2 separate regions of the Homo sapiens genome follow, and region 1 is linked to region 2. Evidence: promoter capture Hi-C in 16 types of primary human blood cells and fetal thymus (Javierre and others, 2016). All regions are on one chromosome and are shown on one strand. The core of a region is centred on a gene start or on the middle of the fragment in contact, and the rest is flanking DNA. Distances in the headings are between cores, read along the strand shown. Region 1 overlaps EFCAB13 (EF-hand calcium binding domain 13). Region 2 holds the start of KPNB1 (karyopherin subunit beta 1).

The links. Contacts are between HindIII fragments. The CHiCAGO score rates a contact against its expected background, and 5 or more counts as called.
Region 1: a contact is called between a fragment that was not itself captured here and the fragment with the promoter of KPNB1 in region 2, in 4 of 17 cell types (erythroblasts, naive B cells, megakaryocytes and 1 more). The highest score is 9.9, in erythroblasts.

The regions. Positions count from the first base shown.
Region 1 is chr17:47,326,727-47,333,456 of GRCh38, reverse strand. EFCAB13 (EF-hand calcium binding domain 13) reads right to left here. Exons shown (of 25, transcript NM_152347.5): 4 at 5,074-5,188. The coding sequence starts at 5,103. Among named protein-coding and RNA genes, the nearest start is that of EFCAB13, 6.1 kb to the right of the region's middle. The HindIII fragment of the contact is 3,718 bases long and covers 30-3,747 here.
Region 2 is chr17:47,645,129-47,651,349 of GRCh38, reverse strand. KPNB1 (karyopherin subunit beta 1) reads right to left here and starts at 1,431. Exons shown (of 22, transcript NM_002265.6): 1 at 1,066-1,431; 2 at 906-964. The coding sequence starts at 1,105. It overlaps KPNB1-DT (KPNB1 divergent transcript), which reads left to right and starts at 1,922. Exons shown (of 4, transcript NR_171700.1): 1 at 1,922-1,954. RefSeq lists silencers at 411-460, 761-900, 1,011-1,080, 1,511-1,690, 1,701-1,750 and 1 more and an enhancer at 2,431-3,276. The HindIII fragment of the contact is 6,441 bases long and covers 1-6,157 here.

The DNA.
Region 1 (6,730 bases), core at 639-3,138, 320 kb after region 2:
AAAATGGGATTATATGAAACTAAAAAGCTTCTGTACAGCAAGGGAAACAATCAACAGGTGAGAAACAACCCACAGAAAGGGAGAAAATATTTGCAAACCTTACATCTGTTAAGGCGATAAAGGATTTATACCCAAATTACATAAGGAACTCAACTCAAGCAAGAAAACAAACTATCCAATCAAAAAATGTGTGAAGGATCTGAACAGACATTCTCAAAAGAAGACATACGAATGGCCTATAGGTTTGTGAAAAAATGCTCAATATCACTAATTATTAGGGAAATGCAAAATAAAATTGCAATGAGATATCATCTCACACTATTCTGTTAGATATTCTGTTAGCTATTCTGTTAGAACAGCTATTATCAAAAAGACAAAGGATAACAAGTGTTGGCAAGGATGTGGAGAAAAGGGAACATCTGCACACTGTTGGTATGAATGTTAGTACAGCCATTCCAGAAAACAGTATGGAGGTTCCTCAAAAACTAAAAACAGAATTACCGTGTGATCCAGCAATCCCACTTCTGGGTATATATCCAAAGGAATTGAAATTAATATGTTGAAGAGATATCTGCACTCCCATATTCATTTCAGCATTATTCACAATAGCCAAGATATAAAAGTAACCTAAGTGTCCATCAACAGATGAATACATAAAGAAAATGTGGTGAATATATACAAATGAATACCATACAGCCTTTAAAAAGAAGGAAACTGTCATTCACGATAACATGGATAGAACTGGAAGACACTATGCTAAGTAAAATAAGCCAGGCACAGAAAGACAAACACTGTATGATCTCACTTACATGTGAAATCTAAAAATGTTGTTCTCATAGAAACAGGGAGTAGAAAGATGGTTATCAGAGGCTGGGGGGTGGAGAGGTTTGGGGGAGGAAGAGGGATGGGGAATGGGAAGACATTGATCAAAGGGCACAGAGTTTCAGTTAGACTGGAGGAACAAGTTTTAGTGATCTAATGCATTGGTGAACATGGTTAGTAAATAATATATACTTCAAAATCACTAAAATTTTTTTATGTTCTTACCACAAAAAAAGTTGGTAATGATTATGCTAATAGCTAGATTAAATATTTCTATAATGTATACATAGATCAAAATACTACATTATGCCCCCAAAATACACACAATTATTATTTGTCAATCTAAAATAATAATAAAAAACTCAATTAAGAAAAAAGAATGGCAATAACCCAAAACACTGACAACAACAAATGCTGGCAAGGATGTGAAGCAAGAACTCTCATCATTGCTGATGGGAATGCAAAATGGTACAACCACTTTGGAATACAGTTTGGCAGTTTCTTACAAAACTAAACATACTTTTACCATACAATCCAACTATTGCACTTGTTAGTATTTACTCTAACAAGTTGAAACTTTATTTCCACATAAAAACCTACAATTGGATGTTTATAGCAGCTGTACTCATAATTGCCAAAACTTGAAAGCAATCAAGATGTCCTTCAGTAATTAATAAATAAACTGTGCTAAATGTAGAGAATGGGATATTATTTAGTGCTAAAAAGAAGTGAGCTATCAAGCCTTGAAAATACATTTAAAAACTTTAAATGCACATTAAGTGAAAAAAGCCCGACCTGAATGGTTCCATATTGTATAATTCCAACTATATGACATTCTGGAAAAGGCAAAACTATGGAGACAGTAAAAAATCAGTGTTTGCCAGGGGATGGGGGAAGGAGAAGTAAATAGCTAGAGCACAGAAGATTTTAGGGCAATGTGATTATTCTGTATGATACTATAATGTTGACTATATGTCATAATACATTTGTTCAAACCCATAGAATGTACAACAAAAGTGAACTCTAATGTAAACTATGGACTTTGAGTGATAATGATGTGCCAATGTTGGTTCACCAATTACAACAAATGTACCACTCTGGTACAGGATGTTGATAGCAGGGTAAGCTGTGCATGTATAGGGGCAGTAGGTATATGGTAACTCTCTATTTTCTGCTCATTTTTTTTATGAACCTAAAACTGCTCTAAAAAAAAGTCTACATATTTAAGACCTGAAACCATAAAAATTCTAGAAGACTACCTAGGAAAAACTCTTCTGGACACTGGCTTAGGCAAAGAATTTATGACTATGACCCCAAGAGCAAATGTAACAAAAACAAAAATAAATAAATGAGACCTAATTAAATTCAGAAGCTCTTACACAGCAAAAATAATAATCAACACAGTAAACAGACAACCAACAGAATGAGAGAAAATATTTGCAAACTATACATCCAACAAAGGACTAATATCCAGAATTTACAAGGAATTCAAACAAATCAGCAGCAAAAAAACAAGTACTCCCATTAAAAAGTGGGAAAATAACATGAACAGATATTTCTCAAAAGAAGATATACAAATGGTCAACAAATACATGAAAAATGCTCAACATCACCAATCACCAGGGAAATACAAATTAAAACCACAATAAGATATCACCTTACCCCAGCCAGAATGGCCATTATTAAAAAGTCAAAAAACAATAAATGTTGGTGCAGATGGGATGATGTAAATTAGTATAATTTCCACAGAAAACAGTATGGAGATTTCTCAAAGAAATAAAGGTAGATCTATCGTTCAATCCAGCAAACCCACTACTGGGTATCTACCCAAAGGGAAAAAAAAGTTGTTGTATCAAAAAAAAAACCTACACATATATGTTTATCTCAGCACAATTCACAATACCAAAGGTATGGAACCAACCTAAGTACCCATCAACTGATGAGAGGTTAAAGAAAATGTGGTATATATACTACGGAATACTACTCACCCATAAAAAAGAACAAAATAATGTCTTTTGCAGCAACTTGGATGAAACTGGAGGCCATTATCCTAAGTGAAGTAACTCAGGAACAAAAAAACCAAATACCACATATTCTCATTTATAAATGGGAGCTAAGCTATGGATCCAAAAAGGCATATGGAGTGGTAGAGATTCAGAAGTGGAGAGGGGACAGGGAAGTGAAGGATGAAAAACTACCTGTTGGGTACAATGTATACTATTCAGGTAACAGGTACACTAAAAGCCCAGACTTCACCACTGTATAATTCAGCCATGTAACCAAAAACCACTTGTACCCCTGAAGCTACTGAAATAAAAAATATTAAATAAATAAATATCTTTCTCTACAAAAAATAAAATAACAAAAAACAAAGCCTATATTTAAAAAAAAAGAAGCTATATTGCTTCTAAATAGACACCACTCCCCACCCCCCCAAAAAGAAATAGAGTTTAGTGACAATAAACGTTTAGAAATAGAAGAATGCAGTTGGAAATATTCTCTCCTGAAATCTGGCTGTTTGCTTAAGACAACTGGCGGCATCCAGTCGATCAAAGGTGCATTAGTCCTGAGTCTTTGAACCCAAAGGTGACCATGAAGATTACACAGACAATTTATAAAGATTACCAAGGAAGTTTAGAGAGAATCTCTGTTTCCACAGGATGGAAATTAACAGAACTATTTCAGTGACTTTTAGAATCTGCATCATTTGTCTTATAACAAAGGCATACCTTTAAGTTGTTTCAAAAAGGCAATTTGATTTGCTGCCTTGATGAGATGTGTATTACAAATGATGAAAGGATTCCTAAAGAGATTGAAAAAAATGACCCAAAATAGAAAGCTGAGGGGGAAAAGGGGTAGGAAATCTAAAAAGACAGAAAAACCTGTTACCAAAGGCCAAGTGAATGAAAACAAAGAGTAGAAGCTTTTGACACAGAAGAAGAAAACAATCTCAGAAACATTGTAGTAAAAGGTGAGCCATCTGTGAAGTATAAATTATACAGTCTAAGGAAAACAAACCGGTATGATACTTTAATATTAATTTTTAAGAATTCATCTTCAAAATCAGTTTATAAGGGCAAAATCAACAAAGTAGTAGGTATAAAAAGGTAAATTTTAAATGTATATATGTGTATATATATGATATAAAGTACATATCTCAGCACTTTTCAAGAGTCTCTGAGATTATTTTTCAGACTATAGTATAGGTACATGTTTTACACAGTAGCGTCAGATCTTTAACAAGGATAAATTTAAAAGATTAGGACTCTCAATTGACAATGCTGAATTTCACTTGAGCCCTAAACTCCCAGAAAACAGTGAGGGTTAAAGGAATCCCCCCACCCTTTTGTGTTCTGGAAAATGGCTTACTGCAAACCACTCCTCCCCATATGACTTAGGTAAGACTCTGGAATGCCCCCCTTGTTTACTTATGACAATGCCAGACACACCCCCTCAAAATTCCCTTTCTTTGCGTCATAAATTATTAGCTGTTTTATCCCCACTGATAATCAGAATATAATAGACTGACTTCATGATAAAATACTCTCCAATCTACTTATCTAATCATTCTACTATTTCATCCAATTTCCCCATACCTGGTTCTTTCCAGCGTCTCTCTATAAAAGAAAACTTCTGCCCAACCCTTGAGACACCTACAGATCTTACGGTCACAGCATTCTTTCCATTGCAATAGTCCTCCTCCTCTTCCAATTTCAATAGTCCCTTTTTTCTCTTGCAATAATTATTTTGAATAAAGTCTCTGCTTACTAAGTCCAGATTTGTTTTTATTTGAAAAAACTTGTCTTATTTGACACAATACTAGCAAAAAAAGGTGGAGGCATCTAAAAAGACAGAAGGGCATAAAACTCTGAAGTACAGATAAGAGGGCTAAAGAAATTTGATGTCCTCTACATTATTTTTTGGTTATACTCTCACATCATTAATTACATTATCTACAACCTCTCATGTAAGTTTAACCCTTTTGATCTCCACAAAAATTATCCAGGTCCGTACCCCACCAAAATACTCTCATCATACACCACAGAAGATCTCTCAGTATTATATGGGTTGTAGGGATGGGAGTTCAATACATGTTCACTAAAATGACTCAAACATCATCTCAGTTACTTGGCCAGGTTCCTTATAACTATTACTCTATGAATTTGCTTACTGATTATGAATATGAGGTAATGTAAACTAATTTTAAAAAGAAGAAAGAAGAAATCTTTAGAAACTGTTTTAAATAAATACCTGGCAGAATAAATGTACTTTAGTTTCCATCTTTCTGTTTAGAGGTAAATTCTGTCCTTAAGGACTCCAGGCTTTGATGAACAAGTATGAATGAGCAATAGTACAAAAGGATTTCCTGCCAAAAAAAGAGAAAGAAGAAATCATACGCTTGTTTAGAACACTTAAGCAATTATATTTACCTACCTGAAGTTATCTCTTCAATGTAACACTGACTTGGGGTATGATACACAACATTTCACCAACACAGATATGTGGGCAAACACTAGAAAAAGCAGTTAGTAGACTATAAATCACAGATCATCCAATTCCTTAACTTTACCTTTTGTGGTTTGAGAAATCCAGTTTCAAATGGCATACAAAGCTGAGAAATCCAATTACATCTGTTTATTTAAATAAACCCTGAGAAGCAGAACTGCTAAGACAGTAGTAATCACTCATGTTACTGAATGCTTACTGTGTGCTAAATATCATGATAAAGACTTGAAGAGGTCAAGTTTCCCAAGATCACACAGCCAGCAAATAGTAGAGACAGAATTTGAATTCAGACAATTTAACTCCAAGCCTGTGGTCTTCAGTCCCATAGAACATTGCCTTTCAAAACAATGCTACTGCAAACAAAAGATGGTGTAGGCCGGGCGCAGTGGTTCACGTCTGTAATCCCAGCACTATGGGAGGCCGAGGTGGGCGGATCATGAGGTCAAGAGATTGAGACCATCCTGGTCAATATGGTGAAACCCCGTATCTACTAAAAATACAAATCAATTAGTTGGACGTGGTGGCATGCGCCTATAATCCCAGATACTCAGGAGGCTGAGGCAGAATCGCTTGAATCTGGGAGGCGGAGATTGCAGTGAGCCAAGATCGCACCACTGCACTCCAGCCTGGGATATACAGTGAGACTGTCTCAAAAATAAAAAAAAAGGCCAGGTATGGTGACTCACATCTGTAATCCCAGCACTTTGAGAGGCCAAGGCAGGTGGATCACGAGGTCAGGAGTTCAAGACCAGCCTGGCCAAGATGATGAAACCCCGTCTCTACTGAAAATACAAAAATTAGCCGAGTGTGGTGGCACGCACCTATAATCCCAGCTACTCAGGAGGCTGAGGCAAAGAACTGCTTGAACCCAGGAGGCAGAGGTTGCAGTGGGCCAAGACCACGCCACTGCACTCCAACCTGGGTGCAAGACTCTGTATCAAAAAAAACAAAACAAAAGAAAACAAAACAAAATAAAGAAAGAAAAGATGGTGTAGCCTCACTTCAAACTCAAGACTTTCACATTATGCAAATGTGATAACCAACACTTAGAAATTCCTCAAATTTTCATATTTTCAACTCACATCTGAGTTACATTTTATGAGCTATTTATCACAGTGCTAGCTATATTACATTATATTACATTGCTAGTTATAATCATCAGTCTTTTTCTTGTAAAGTTTAACTGCAAGTATTAATATTCTAATGAAGACAGAGTACTTAAAATCATTTTTATTTATTTCTGACATATGTTTATAGTCATTATTTTTCAATGTGATATGTCCAACATTCCTGGAATTCAAAATATGTTAAAATAAAATAGAACCACATTGAAAATACTCATCTCAGAAAATACTGGAAATCTATGCAGGTCTCCCCAGTAACCCATCCTACGTAATCTCTT
Region 2 (6,221 bases), core at 182-2,681:
AATCCTTCCCTCTGACCCCATCCCCCAACAGGAGATGGACACCAAAGAGAAACTTAACTGGCATCTAGGCTGTTTCAACCAATCCATCCCACATTTTTATACAAAGGACCAGTCTCTAGCGGACTTAGCTTCATTTTCTCCGGACCCCTTAAATTTTAAAATATGAAAAACGAGGAACTTTCCCCTGTGATTTCATCAGCAAACAGGCCCCATCTCAAAGATGAGCCTCAGTCTGTTTTCTGGGTGCAGATCCCTAGTGATTAGGTCTCTATTCATCCAGGTCAGAAGAAAAAAAAAAAAGAAAGAAAGAAAAAGAAAAAACCCCAAGAGAGGAATAACCGAGCAAAGAGGGAAAAATATCAGTGGAAATGGGTTAAGAGGCAGTCGGGTGCCAGGCCTGGCCATGAGTACAGACCAAGGTAGCTAGGAAAGGGCAGAGCTCTAGGAAATAGGTGGGGAGAGCCACAGGGGCCACGGGATAGGAAGGAGAAGCCGGCCGGGGTCAGACAGGGCGGGCGGCCGGGCCCGGAGCTTCCACATGGCCCCTAGGCCCGACTCCCCCGCCCCCACCCCTGCTGAACACGCAGCGCCGCGCAACCTAACTTCCCTTCCCTCCCTCTTTCTCCCTCCCGCTGCACCGCCGCCCTCAGGCCGCGCAACGATTGGGCGGCAGGCAGCTCGGCGCGCCAAGCCATTGGCCAGTCGCGAGGCCCGGGGCGGGACACACCCACCGGCTTCCCGATGGCGGGGTTAGGTTGGACCGGGTTGGGGGGGGAGGGGGAGGGGGGAGGGGGACGGGATGGGGCGGGGTAGGTTCCCGAGGCCTGGGCCTCCGGGAGGGCGGGAAGGCCCCGCACGCAGGGGATGGGGACGCGGCGGGATGGGCGCGGCGGGGTAGCACGCACCAGGTTCTCCACGGCCGCACGCTCCAGGAACTTCTGCGCCGCTTCCAGCTCCAGCCGATCTAGGGGGAGGAAAGTGGGAGACGGAGCGGGGTCAGAGGGGCCGGGCCTCCCCTCCCCCACCCCAATCACCTCAGCCCTACCCCCGGCTCCTGCGTCCTACCGGGAGACACGGTCTTCTCGAGAATGGTGATCAGCTCCATGGCGGAGGTGGCGGCGGCGGCGACTCCTCCTAAGACGACGGCCCGGCCTTTCGGGCGGCGGCTCGAACTGGGGATGGGGGTTGGGGGTCGGGTGGGAAGGGAGGGTGGGGTGGGGGGCGGGGGTCACCACAAACCCATTCACCGGCTCTGTCTGGGTAGTCGGTCCGGCTCCCCTTCCTCTCCTCTTCCCTTACTTCCTCCCTCCAAATGGGCTGCTGGCGGCGGGGGAGGGACCCTGGGGGCAGCTCAGAGCGCGCTGGTGCTCGGGAGGCGGAGGGAGAAAGAAGGAAGGGAGGCTGTGAGTGAGAGGCGGCGCGCAGGGAGGGAGCGAGGGAGGGAGGAAGGCGGAGGGATATTCGGACCGGACCTCTCCGCGGAGGCGCCGCGCTCCACGACGATTGGCCGTTGTCCTGGCCACGCGGAATCCCTAACTGGCCAGGCGCTCAGCGTCGAAGGGCCGTCTCGCGCCCATTCGCCTGCTGGTTTCAAGGCCCGGGTTGGCTGGGCGGGCAGCGGAATGGAGCGCGCGGATTGGCCGAGGGGAGGGAGATTGGGATGGGGTAGGAGAGAGCCCGCCGTTGATTGGGTGGGCTTGGTAAAGGCCTTGAGCTCAGACCGGCTGAGCGCTGGGAGGAGGGTGGACCGGAGGCACGACTCGGATCCTGCGCGATTGGCTGGGATAGTAGGCGTTGATAGGATAGGGTGCCCGGGAGAACTAAGGAGAGGAGTTCGGGGTCGGGGCGCGGGAAGGCGGGAGGTGCCCGGCAACCCTAGGAGCCCGGCGCGGGGCACGATGGGACGCCCCCGGGAAGAGGCGGAGCTGGGTTCGAGCGCTGGGGCTGCGGTTGGGTAAGCGCCGTCGCTCCGAGGGGCGTGTTGCGCGAGGTTTTCGCGGGCCTGAGCGGGGGAGGGGGGACTGTTGAAGTCCTGCGCCGCGCCCACAGGAAGCTGCTTTAATGGCTAGGTCGGCTTGGTACCCTGCTTTCGGCTGGGAGGGATCCGTAAGGCCATGTGGCTCCACTGCCAATGTGTAGATGTGGAAACTGAAGCCCAGAGAGGGTATGGAACTTGTCCAAGGTCACACAGCTGGTTAATGGCTTGGTAAGGAATGGGTTCAGGAGCCCAGAGAGGGTCTGGAACTTGTCCAAGGTCACACAGCTGGTTAGTGGCTTGATAAGCTCAAGCTCTCCTGACGGCCCTTGTCCCTACAAGCAGCTTCCTCTCCAAGGAGTCCCCTAAGCCTGCTTATATGGGGCTTGAGACCTGTGCTGTGATAAATCTGACTTGCTTAGGGGTGAGCTAAGGGATTCCTCCTCTTAGACCCCCCATCCATAGCTACCAGGTACTTGACAGGATGGAAATGTTTCACCCTCCAAAAGTACCCTGTAAAGGCCCAACCTCGAACCAGAAAGAATGTGTGTACAGGAATAAAGGATTGTGGTTCTTAACCTGTTTCAGTTCTCAACCCCGGAAGAAACTCATGAATGCCTTTTCTTAGCAAAATGCATATAAAGAAAACGTGGGCCGGGCGCTGTGGCTCGCGCCTGTAATCCCAGCACTTTGGGAGGCCGAGGGGGGCGGATGACGAGTCAAGAGATCGAGACCATCCTGGCCAACATGGTGAAACCCCGTCTCTACTAAAATATAAAAAATTAGCCCGGTGTGGTGGCGCGTACCTGAAGTCCAAGCTATTCCTGAGGCTGAGGCAGGAGAATCGCTTGAACCCTGGACGCAGAGGTTGCAGTGAGCCGATATCGCGCCACTGCAGTCCAGCCTGGCGACAGAGCGAGACTCCATCTCAAAGAAAAGAAAAAAAATGTGCATACAGTATGTGGCTCAGGCCTGCAATCCCAGGACTTTGGGAGGATCGCTTGAGCCCAGGGGTTCAAGACTAACCTGGACAACTTAGCGAGATCCTGTCTCTTTTAAAAAAAATGAAGATTTTTAAAATGATAAAGGAAAAGTGTAATAATAGGGCCGGGCGCGGTGGCTCATGCCTGTAATCCCAGCACTTTGGGAGGCCGAGGCGGGCGGATCACTTGAGGTCAGGAGTTCAAGACCAGTCTGGCCAACATGGTGAAACCCTGTCTCTACTAAAAATACAAAAAAAAAAAAAAAACCTAGCCGAGCGTGGTGGCGCACGCCTATAATCTCAGCTCCTCAGGAGGCTGAGACAGAATCTCTTGAACCCGGGAGGCAGAGGTTGCAGTGAGCCAAGACTTCACCACTGCACTTCAGCCTGGGCGACAGTTAAGACTCTCAAAAAAAGAAAAAATAAATGGTAACAAAGAATTTCTTGAATTGTTTCATTTTCACAGTAATGATGTAGGGGTAATTGGATGTAGCTGGTTCATAGAGCTTTTTACCATATGACTTGAGCTTGTGAGGTAATTGCCCTGCAGTAGCCACACTGGGAAAACCTAGGAGGAAGTCTGACTTTGTTGAAAGGTTTCACAAAGAATTAGGAAAGATTGGCCAACTCTTTGTTAAAAGAGGAAGAAATGGTCTTTCTCTGCTAGAGATATCTTTGCAGTTTTGAAGCTAGAAATGTAGGGACACCATTCCTCACACCATACTGTGACTAGTGGATTTCCCATGGCTTAGCAGCTAACCCCAGCCTTTTGCTTCATCTATTAACTGTGGAAGAACTGCCCTGTGTGTGTAACTTTGTTATAAATCAGTGAAGATTGGGCCAGGGCGTGGTGGGTCACGCCTTTAATCCCAGCACTTTGGGAGGCTGAGGTGGGCAGATCAACTGAGGTCCGGAGTTAGAGACCAGCTTGGCCAACACAGTGAAACCCTGTCTCTACTGAAATACAAAATTAGCCGGGCGTGGTGGTGGGCACCTGCAATCAATCCCAGCTACTCAGTAGGCTGAGGCAGGAGAATTGCCTGAACCCGTGAGGCAGAGGTGGTAGTGAGCTAAGATTGCACCACCGCACTCCAGCCTGGGTGACAGAGCAAGACTCCATCTCAAAAAAAACCCACTGTACTCCAGCCTGGATGACAGCAAGACTCCATCTCAAAACAAAACAAAACAAAACAACACTGCATTCAGCCTGGGTGCCAGAGCAAGACTCCATTTCAAAAAAAAAGAAATCAATGAAGATTGGCCATGCGTGGTGGCTCACGCCTGTCATTGCAGTACTTTGGGAGGCTGAGGCTGGAGGATCTCTTGAGCCCAGGAGTTTGAGGCCAGCCTGACCAACATGGTGAAACCCTGTCTGTACTAAAAATACAAAAATTAGCCGGGTGTGGTGGTGGGAGCCTGTAATCCTAGCTACTTGGGAGGCTGAGGCAGGAGAATCACTTGAACCCAGAAGTCAGAGGTTGCAGTGAGCCGAGATTGCGCCACTGCACTCCAGCCTGGGCGACAGTGAGACTGTGTCCCCCCACCGCCGCTAAAAAGTCAATGAAGATTAAGTGAGATGACATCTGTGAAAATCCTGGAATTGTCCTTACCTGAGTTACCTACACTACAAATTATCCATAATTTGTTTCACTCAAGCTAACTTTCCCCTGCTCTCCAGCAGTTTGCTGGGCTACCTCTGTCTCAACATCAGTCATGATGATACCAGTGAGGGCAAATGGATTTTTAAAGCAACTGAAATAAGAGCAAAACCCTGTCTCTATACAATTTTCTTTCTTTCTTTCTTTCTTTTTTTGATACAGAGTCTCGCTTTCACCCGGGCTGGAGGGCGGTGGTGCCATCTCAGCTCACTGCAACCTCCGCCTCCCGGGTTCAAGCAATTCTCCTTTGCTCTTAGGATATAGACAAAACCACTTGCATGGCAGGCAAGGTCTTGTATGATCTTGCCTCCGCTCAGCACTAGCTCGACTCAATCCCTTGTTCTCAATCCCTTGTTTTCCCAAGTAGCTGGGATTACAGGTACCCACCACCACGCCCAGCTAATTTTTTTTATATTTCAGATGGGGTTTCACCATGTTGGCCAGGCTGGTTTCAAACTCCTGACCACAAGTTATCCGCCCACCTCGGCCTCCCAAAGTGCTGGGATTACAGGCGTGAGCCACCACGCCCAACCCATACAATTTTGAAAAAGCCGGGCATGGTGGCATGTACTTCAGGAGGGTGAGGCAGGAGGATTACTTGAGGCCAGGAGTTTAAGGCTGCAGTGACCTATGATCCTGCACTCCAGCCTGGGTGACAGCTAGACCCTGTGGCTGAAGTAAAATGCTGGGAAAATAAAAGTTTTACAGCAAAGTTCCAATCAAACATAAAATCCTTACCAAAATCAAAATGAACTGACTTTAGTTGAACTAAAGTTACTGATGGTGCTGTTTAGTTCTTATCAAAAGTACTCACATTCAATAAATGCTGGTGAGGTACCGGAGCTTGAGTGATGAGCACAGACTCCAGAAATTGGGTGCCTGAGTTCCTATCCCAGCTCTACCACTTCTTAGTTTGTGAGTTAACTTTCCTCAATGTAAAATGAGACTATTAATTGTCCTTACTATGTAGGGACAAATAGGGAGGTCCTAAGTGAGTTAAGACATGGTGAATGGGCTGAGTGCAGTGGCTCATGCCTATAATCACAGCACTTTGGGAGGCCAAGGCTGGAGGATCACTTGAGCCCAGGAGTTTGAGGCCAGCCTGGCCAACATGGTGAAACCCTGTCTGTACTTAATACAAAAATTAGCCAGGCGTAGTGGCAGGAGCCTTTAATCCCAGCTACTCGGGAGGCTGAGGCAGGAGAATCACTTGAACCCAGGAGGTGGAGGTTGCAGTGAGCCGAGATCACGCCGTTGCACTCCAGCCTGGGTAACGCAGCGAGACCCTGTCTCAAAAAAGAAAAGAAAAATATGGCAGCTTTAATTTTAATTTAAAAAAATAAATAAAAGACATGGTGAATGCCAGTCTAGCATGTTATGTATGCATTGGCTGTTATCTCCTTACCATGTATTTTGTGCTAAGTGAGTGGTCCTTGGTCTATTAGGGAAGATAGACTTTAATCATTTAATCTCTCAAACATGTAAAGTTGTAAAAGTGACACATGTCAAGGAAGGTTCCAGTCAGGGAGTTCAGGGAAAGCTTAGCTGAGGAAGGGAAGAGAGTTACTCAGGTGAAGAAGAGAGGAATAGTGTGTATGGAGACTCT